Linked DNA regions of Homo sapiens: region 2 is linked to region 1. Evidence: promoter capture Hi-C in 16 types of primary human blood cells and fetal thymus (Javierre and others, 2016). All regions are on one chromosome and are shown on one strand. The core of a region is centred on a gene start or on the middle of the fragment in contact, and the rest is flanking DNA. Distances in the headings are between cores, read along the strand shown. Region 1 holds the start of SLC30A9 (solute carrier family 30 member 9). Region 2 holds the start of ANAPC4 (anaphase promoting complex subunit 4).

What was found. Contacts are between HindIII fragments. The CHiCAGO score rates a contact against its expected background, and 5 or more counts as called.
Region 2: the fragment with the promoter of ANAPC4 here is called in contact with the fragment with the promoter of SLC30A9 in region 1 in 1 of 17 cell types (total CD8 T cells); the score reaches 5.2 in total CD8 T cells.

The regions. Positions count from the first base shown.
Region 1 is chr4:41,988,880-41,993,223 of GRCh38, forward strand. It overlaps SLC30A9 (solute carrier family 30 member 9), which reads left to right and starts at 1,651. Exons shown (of 18, transcript NM_006345.4): 1 at 1,651-1,881. The coding sequence starts at 1,773. RefSeq lists enhancers at 1,323-1,402, 1,683-1,822 and a silencer at 1,532-1,751. The HindIII fragment of the contact is 8,038 bases long and covers 1-4,076 here.
Region 2 is chr4:25,375,364-25,379,298 of GRCh38, forward strand. ANAPC4 (anaphase promoting complex subunit 4) reads left to right here and starts at 1,900. Exons shown (of 29, transcript NM_013367.3): 1 at 1,900-1,981; 2 at 2,055-2,193. The coding sequence starts at 2,065. RefSeq lists a silencer at 1,603-2,022 and enhancers at 2,143-2,202, 2,233-2,302. The HindIII fragment of the contact is 5,076 bases long and covers 1-3,935 here.

The sequences.
Region 1 (4,344 bases), core at 401-2,900:
AAGTCAAGTTACACCCCAACTATACCAGGAAAAAGAAGGACAGGAAAGCACACACTGTGAAATTTTACTGTGCACCAACATATTTTACACATCAGGTGGGCTGTTATGGAAATTAAGAACTCTGCACAAAATGTATTTTTTTTAAAAGTTTTATCAAGAAAGGAACATTTTCTTCTAAAAATGATTAGTACAGCTAAACAAAATAAAAATAATAATCCTATCGCACAAATTAAAAATAAAACCTGAGAAGTTTTGATCAGGCTTGCCTAAAACGAGTTGAAACCAAAGCCATTTTAAGAATCCAAAATATGAGATTAGTTTTGTTCAAAAAGAATTATCCATAAAAGTTAATAGATGTTTGCATAGTTACCATAAAATAAGAGGTAAGCCTTTATGTATTTTTACTTCATAAAGTTGAATTTCTATTAAAATCTATTACAAGAAAGGGAAAGTAACTTTCCAGTAATATTCAGATTTTTTAGTAATATTGAGCCTACATTTATGGGACATCATTTTTTAATGTTTGTCCACTGAATATTTTAAGTTATGTTTGTCATAGGAAATTAAATTTGCTTACCATTCTTAACGATAATCTCTTTCCTCATTTGGTTATACTTATCTCAATTAGTATAAGAGACTTGTTGATTTTTTTAAAAATTAAGGACATACTAAATTTCCCCGAGATAGTTATTTTGCAGTAATATAGATAAGCGACTCAGATTAACTTTAAAACAAACCACCATACATTCCATTCAATTTATTTTTGCCAGGCATTGTTTTAGCGGCTTTATACAGCCATGTACAAAATAGACAAGATTCCAGCATCATGATGCTTATTTTCTATTCTAGGACACAAAATAGAAAAAAAAATCTCAAATAGTGATAAGCGTTTTGAAGAAAAGTATATAGGACAGCCGGGTAGAGAATGACCAGGACTACCATAGCTAGGGTGGTCAAGGAAGGCCTCTCTTGAGTTTGAGTTAAGAGCTGAATGAGCATGGCAGAGAGAAACAGTTAACGTGGATACTGTTCAGGTTTCTTTCTCCCTGGGACCAAAATGTTTCGAAGTCTGCATACCTCCGTTTACCCTAACTTGTCATGAACATAAAACCTCTTATATTGCAGGCAAAAATCTGAGGTTCACAGATTAGTAGGGCAAGTAGCTGATTCCGAAGTGTGTACTTGCCTTTATGATACTGGATACACACTGGTGTTAACAAGGAGAACGATGTACGTGGCAGACGTTCGGAGAGTACTGGACATGTTGGTTCTAATTTGGGTTTATCCTGGCAGGCTCTAGGTAGAGAGGCTCAGAAAACCTGCGTCCATCCTTCCCATCTTTCCTCCCATTTCCGAAACCACGGCCCCGGTTTCGAGTCCAGAAAAAAAGGAATAAGTAGAACTCCCAAAGGACAGCTTTCCTGGCTGAACAAGATGTAAACAGTTTACGTGATTTCCAACCAAGCGCAAAAGTACAGGTGCAAAAGAAGACGGCAGACACCAAACTTCCCCTGCAGCCACGCCCTCCCCACTTTGGGAGTCTGGGTCCCCGGGAAGGAAGGCCTCCCTATTGGTGCTCAACGTGTTACGTCACTTCCGCTACCTCCACGGCAGGCGTCGCTAAATGACGTTGCCGTTTCCGGGTCACCCAGGCAGCTTGTGGCGGCGAAGCCATCGGTGTTCGCTGATGTCCAGTCTATGGAGTCAGTTGGTACCGGTGGCGGCGCGGAGGCAGAAGGCGGTGTCCGAGTAGGGGCCTCTGCCCCACCAGGATGTTACCCGGCTTGGCCGCCGCCGCGGCCCACAGATGTAGCTGGTCCTCCCTGTGCCGGCTCCGTCTGCGATGCAGGGCGGCGGCCTGTAATCCCAGCGACCGCCAGGGTGAGTGTCCCGCGCTGGCCGCTGGCTCCGTAGAAGCCGAACTGGAGGGCCAGGCTGGGCTCGGCGCCTCGCCTGGGGCAATTCGCCCACTTGCCTTTCGCCAACCTCAGAACCTTCCTTTCTGGCCTCCGCCTTTCCAGTTCAGCCTGCGCAGCCCGCGGGGGTCCTGACAGGTCTCTGACTCTGATGCCTTCTGCAGCCCTAGCATGGCCCCCGCGGGAACTTGTGGGCACCTCGCGGGCCGGATTGCACCTCTGAAGCCTACCGCTTTGTACCAAACAAAATGTTACGTGCGCATCGCGGTGTCCCGCGGTTACTCACCTCCGCGGTTGGAAATTGCGGACTCCGCAAAGTTCCAGGGTCTTTGGAGCTTTCCAGCGCACCTTCATTTAGCACTTGGTTGAGATTTTCTTGGCCTTCTTTTTCTTACTCTCCCAACTTATTTTCTTAAATTTTCTAAAAGGAAGGAGGGGTGCTACTCACTACGGATCTTTTGGAAGAAGTACGAAAGTATCCGACAATCATTGAATGAACCCAGTTTGGGTCCGAAAAACAAAGAAACTCTTCAGTTCGGCTGAGCAGTCTTTTTGGTGAAAAGGTGGCAGTTGTAGTGGTAACCCAGAAAAAAAGGTGGTTGAAGAGAATTTTCGTCTCTCTCAACATTCTTTTCTGACTCAAATTTAAATGGTTTGAGAGTTTCCAAAATAACATTGAACTAATCAGGCTTACCTTCGTTTTTGCCGTAGCTTGACACACATTGCTTGACACTGAGAACTGATAGGATCTCTGAGGGAGAAGACAGAACTAAGTCCACCCTTAACCTAATCCCTCCATTCTTGGGATGCAGAGAGTATTTACCGAAACATTCATGTTCGAAGCCAGGTGTGGTGGTGCGCTCCTGTAGTCCAGCTACTCGGGAGACTGAGGCAGGCAGATCTTTTGAGCCCAATAGTTCTAGGCTAGCCTTGGCAACATAGTGAGCTGTCTGTAAAAACATAGGTTTGAAAAAACCTGTAACATGTTCGTGACCTCCTGAAAGAAGTCGGAAGTTGCAGTCATTCGAGATTTTATGTAATATAAGCTATAGTAACTATGCTGTGGATATAAATTAGAATATATTCGTATCTTTTATTTGCAATAAATGTAAAGCTGAATCTTAGAATTTCAAACGGATAAATTTTAACAGCACTATTCCCAGGGCTTTTTTGGTAGTGATAGAAAAGTGTAACTGTTGAGTTTTTCCATATTGGCAATATACTGCCAGGTTCCCTTATGGACAGAATGAATCATCGGCTGGGTGCAGTGGCTCATGCTGCTAATCCTCAGGAAGATTGTAAACCTTAGGACGCTGAGGTGGGTGGATCGCTTCAGCCCAGGAGTTCCAAGACCAGCCCGGGCAACATGGCAAAACTGCCTCTCTACAAAAAATTAGCCTGGTTTGGTGACGCGCGCCTGTAATCCTAGCCTGTACTCAGGAGGCTGAGGTGGGAGGATCGCTTGAGCCCAGGAAATTGAGGCTGCAGTGAGCCTTGAGCATGCCAGTGCACTCCAGCCTGGGTGACAGAGTGAGACCTGTCTCAAAAAAAAAAAAAGAAAAGAAAAAGAAAAATGAATCATACGTTTATACTGTACTCCAGAATCCCCAAGTAAGTTTCTAACACAATTGTTTCTATTGACCAAGCAATTTTGGCATTTTACACTGAAATTACAGTGGCTGTTAAATTTAGTCTAAACTGCCCTTTAAGTGTTGGCAAAAAGGAGAAGAAACAGTGTAATTTGTAATCCCTCTTCTGTGTAGCTGTCATTATGTTGAAAATTATGTATTCTTTGTCTCATCTGTCTGTGAAACACAGATAATTATTACCTACCTTAGTGGTCAAAATGACTTTGCAAAGTTGTTTGGAATGTTTATTACTACAAAAAATTAAAATTTTTTTTACACTTAAAAATGCTTAGTAGGTTTTTAAAAATAACTTTGTGAAAATTTAGTTTCAGTAATGAAGCATTTCTTAAAAGGGCAACCATTATTATGGCAAAATTTAAAAATCATTTAGAAAAAGAGTACTATTTAAATTGGATGCATGTGAGAAGACTATTTGAAGAACTTTTGGAGAAAGAAAATCTAAAAACAGTTGTTTTTATTTGTCTAGAAGTAAGGTTTAGTTTATGCTTCTAAAATGCCTGTGGCTGGGAAAAGCTTATAAAGCATAAGGAGAGGAGGAAACCTTGAGGGATTGCTTGAATACTTAAAAATGAGGAATGCCTTTAAAGGCAAAATAGAAACTGTCTAAAAGAAATATGAGAGCCCTGTTTGTAATTTTGAGTTGTCTGATAGCCACATTAAAAAAAGTAAAATTAAAGATGAATTAATTTTAATATATCCTAGAATTAATTTTAATAACGAAATTTATATATTTTAATAATAAAATATATAAAATTTAATACTATTTTATTAAGTATATT
Region 2 (3,935 bases), core at 650-3,149, about 17 Mb before region 1:
AGGAAAATGGACATTCAATTTCCGTAAGAAGGTTAATGTGCATAGATACTAGACCCCCACCAGGTGATCCATTATAACTGCCCCAAAACACTAACACCTGAAAATGCATTTTGTGAAAAACAAAGGCAAATGCATTTTTACCTTAGAAATGTTGATTCTGGAAGAGTTGGGGGCACTTGGTAAGTTGTTTGTGGCAAAGGCAAGGGCTGCAAAGCCCGTGACAGGAAGCAGGGTAGGTATAAAGTCAAGGATTAAGAACAGTACTTGGCACAAAATAGTTACTTGATGCTGAATGAATTAGTCTCCCTCCGTCATCTACTTCCCAGGGGCTAGATCCAGACAGAGGTCAAGAAGATGGGGCCTGTTGAAAGTTAAAGGACCTGCCGTCTGTTTCTTCTTTGAACAAGTGAAAGGTAGTAAAAAGTAGATGGCTTTCTACCATAGGTTTTAAGTTTAAGAACCCTAGGATGGTACTGTCACATTCTCTTAGGGAGGTCATAGCTGTGGGAACTGTCAACAGGTTGACTCATTTAAATGTGTCCTACATAAAGCAACATCAGATGAGTTCTGATTTACAAGTCTGCCAGGCTGGCCTGTGAGCCTCTGGGCAGAGTTCCCGTCCCATGCATTGCTGTAGCCTCAGTTCCTCCACATAGTAAATGCCCAAGTACCTATAGAAGAAATCGTGTGTGAGCCCACACTCTTTTTTTATATTTTAGAGACGGAGTCTGGCTCTGTTGCCCAGGCTGGAGTGCAGTGGCACAATCTCGGCTCACTGCAAGCTCCGCCTCACTGCAAGCCCCGCCTCACTGCAAGCTCCGCCTCACTGCAAGCTCCGCCTCCCGGGTTCACGCCATTCTCCTGCCTCAGCCTCCCCAGTAGATGGGACTACAGGTGCCCGCCACCATGCCTGGCTACTTTTTTGTATTTTTTAGTAGAGACGGGGTTTCACCATGTTAGCCAGGATGGGCTCTATCTCCTGTCCTTGTGATCCGTCCGCCACGGCCTCCCAAAGTGCTGGGATTACAGGCGTGAGCCACCGCGCCCGGCCCTGAGCCCACACTCTTTATTCGTTATGACGGTGCTGCAACTACCAATAAGTTGTGAGGGTTAAATGGGATGAGATGTCACAGTATTATTTGCCTGTTAGGGAGGTTTTAGGGCACGCGCCTCTTCTCTCCAAATTGGAATCACCCAAAGAGTTTTAGTAAATACTGGGCCCATCCAGGGTTAATTTTCTTCTAATTGGTTTGGGGTGCTGCTTGGACAGGGGGACTTTTAAAATTCTATACTGACCCACCAGGACTGACATGAGAACTACTCGCTTAGTAACTGTTAGAGGAGGCGCCAGCTGATCAGGACCTAAAGTTCATATTCTTTTTCATCTCCCCGTTGTCGCTGAAGCCTACCCCATAAACCCCTACCGTCCCTTTGCCCACAGCAGAGAATTTCCGGGAAAACGGGAAAGGTATGCAAGCATGCCCACACACGTGCACACACGGGTTCCCAAAAGACCTGCGTGTGGCCGCAGGGGCCTGCCCCGCCCTTCTCGGGCCCTTTCAGGTCCCGGCGCCCAGCGATCCCACCAGCACCTGGGTCCGGCGCGCGGCTCCCTCCCTCTCCGCGCCCCTCGGGGCTCCCTGCCCCGCCCGCGTGCCCCACCCTTCCTAGCTCTGCCCCATCGCTGCTCCCTGCCCCGCCCACGGGCCCCATCCTACCCCCACCTCGATCCGCCCCTCGCTCCTCCCTGCCCCGCCCACCGCGCCCCGTCCCTGTCCGCCCCTTCTGGCTCTCAGCACCCCCAAGACCGGTGCGCGCCCCGCCCCTCCTCCTCCTCTCGCGAGGCAGTCCCGACGCCGGAAGTGCCTGGAGCGCGCGACAGCGGCGGGGCGGGGCGGCCTGGAGGCTGTGGCGCGCGGCCGGCAGAGGGAGGGGAGAGGCCACTGGGGCCGTGTTAGTCTGCCGGTGGGGACTCTTGCAGGTACAGGCGCGGTCGGGGCTCCTCGTGGAGAGCCGGGGGCTCCTGCCGGCCTCTGACTGGGGTGTCGTTGCAGGGCCGTCCCCATGTTGCGTTTTCCGACCTGTTTCCCATCCTTCCGGGTGGTGGGAGAGAAGCAGCTCCCGCAGGAGATTATTTTCCTGGTCTGGTCGCCCAAGCGGGATCTCATTGCTTTGGCCAACACAGCTGGCGAGGTGAGTGAGCCGGCGGGAGCCCGCCTGTGCTGGGTCTGCTCCCGGGGGGCCCAAGAACACCGAGCCCGAGCCTGTTCATTCGGGCCACAGGCGGCCGGAGCCTCAGTTTCCCCTTCTGCAGACATGGCTGGCCACCTGCTACCCCTTCCCTGCCTCCCAGGACGGCAGTAAACTTTAAGTATATATGCGAAAGGTGATGTCTGTGCTATTTTCGGTACTTTTATGGCTAAAGTAACAGTTTTCACACAGCTTAACACCGTCACGCAATCCTGCTTCCCCAAGTCTTCTTCACTCATTGGTTTATTAGTTAAATGAACTTTTTAAAAAAGCCCACTATGTGCTGCTCATGAGCTAGACATAATGGTAGATGCAGGGACCCTGCCCTAAGTTTGCTTACAGTTTTAATAGCAGTAGGAAGAGTTATTGTCAAACTTCAGCTGCAAATGTGCCTGCATGTAGCTGCCACACAGGATATATTTAAGAACCTGGCTTCTCTTGTCCACGTTTTATAGTACGGGTTGGATAACCACCCTCCACTAAAAATACCTCTAAATTGGACAAGGAAGGCATGCATTGGATTCCAGACAGAACGTGCATGGGTGTTATCAGCATTTCTTGTTCACATAAAACTTCATCGAGTATAAACCAGTTGTACCCAACTTTCTGCTGAGAGTTATTACCTGCCAGCCATTTTGTAAGGAAACCTTCACCTGTGCATCTTTCCGCCTCTGGCTTGAGAGTTATCTGGCCATGTGAGAGTTGTATAGAGCCAAATTTGGAAACTAGGTGATAAGGAAATCTTAGCACCCTGCAGACTGTAGTCTGCACCATGTTATCTACCATGATCCAGTCGCCAGGGTATTGATGTCTAATTTTTCAGGGCCCTCCATGAAATCTAGCTAGTCTCCCTCCGCTGCCGGGATGCTTTGAAACTCTGTTGTGGCTCTAGAGAGCAGCAGGTGGTACCGTCACAGAAGTAGGAGGGAAGGTAGACGGGAGGCACATCCGTGCAATCAGATGGGTAGGCGTGATAGAGGGCACTGTTACATCCATTTTCTCAGTGAAGGAAGAAGCAAGGGCATTGTTTATGGGTGAAGATGGAGAAGAATATATTGGAAGTTTGAGGAGAAAGAAGAGGTATGAAAAAGCTAACAAAGCAGGTGGACTTGGGAAACCTAATAGGATTGCCAGTCAGTGTTAAGACCCACATGAGATCGGTGTTATTATTTGAGAGACACTGGTTGAATAAGGTTGTATGTGTCTCTCTCCGTTCTGTTTGGCTGTGTGGGTGCAGGCATGGTTGGGTTTAACCAGGATTGTCGTTTTGCAAGTATGACAAAGCAAGGCAAAGATGAAAGAGAGTTGAAGTTACGTGCAAGAGGAGTGATTGTGTTTCTGAACTTTGGGTTCTAACCTGATGAAGGAGGGAAGTGAAGGCATGTGTGGGGAGAGGGACAGTGAACAGGTGGTAGAATCAATAGACTGTATCCTGGTGAGGTCAAAGAATTGGAGTTGAGTGTTGTAGAGATGACCTGGAAAGAGGGGTGGTGGATGGAAAGTGGGAAGTTTAAAATGGAGATTTTGGTGGCCCTGCAGTTGTTGGTAATGACCAGGCCGGAGGTGTGACCCTGGGAGTGGCTGAGTGCAGTAGAAGATGTGATCACTGGAGGAGAGGTAATTGAGAGCTGAAAAGCCAGGACATCATAGCTCTTGAAATCACCAAAAATGATGATGAGTGTGTT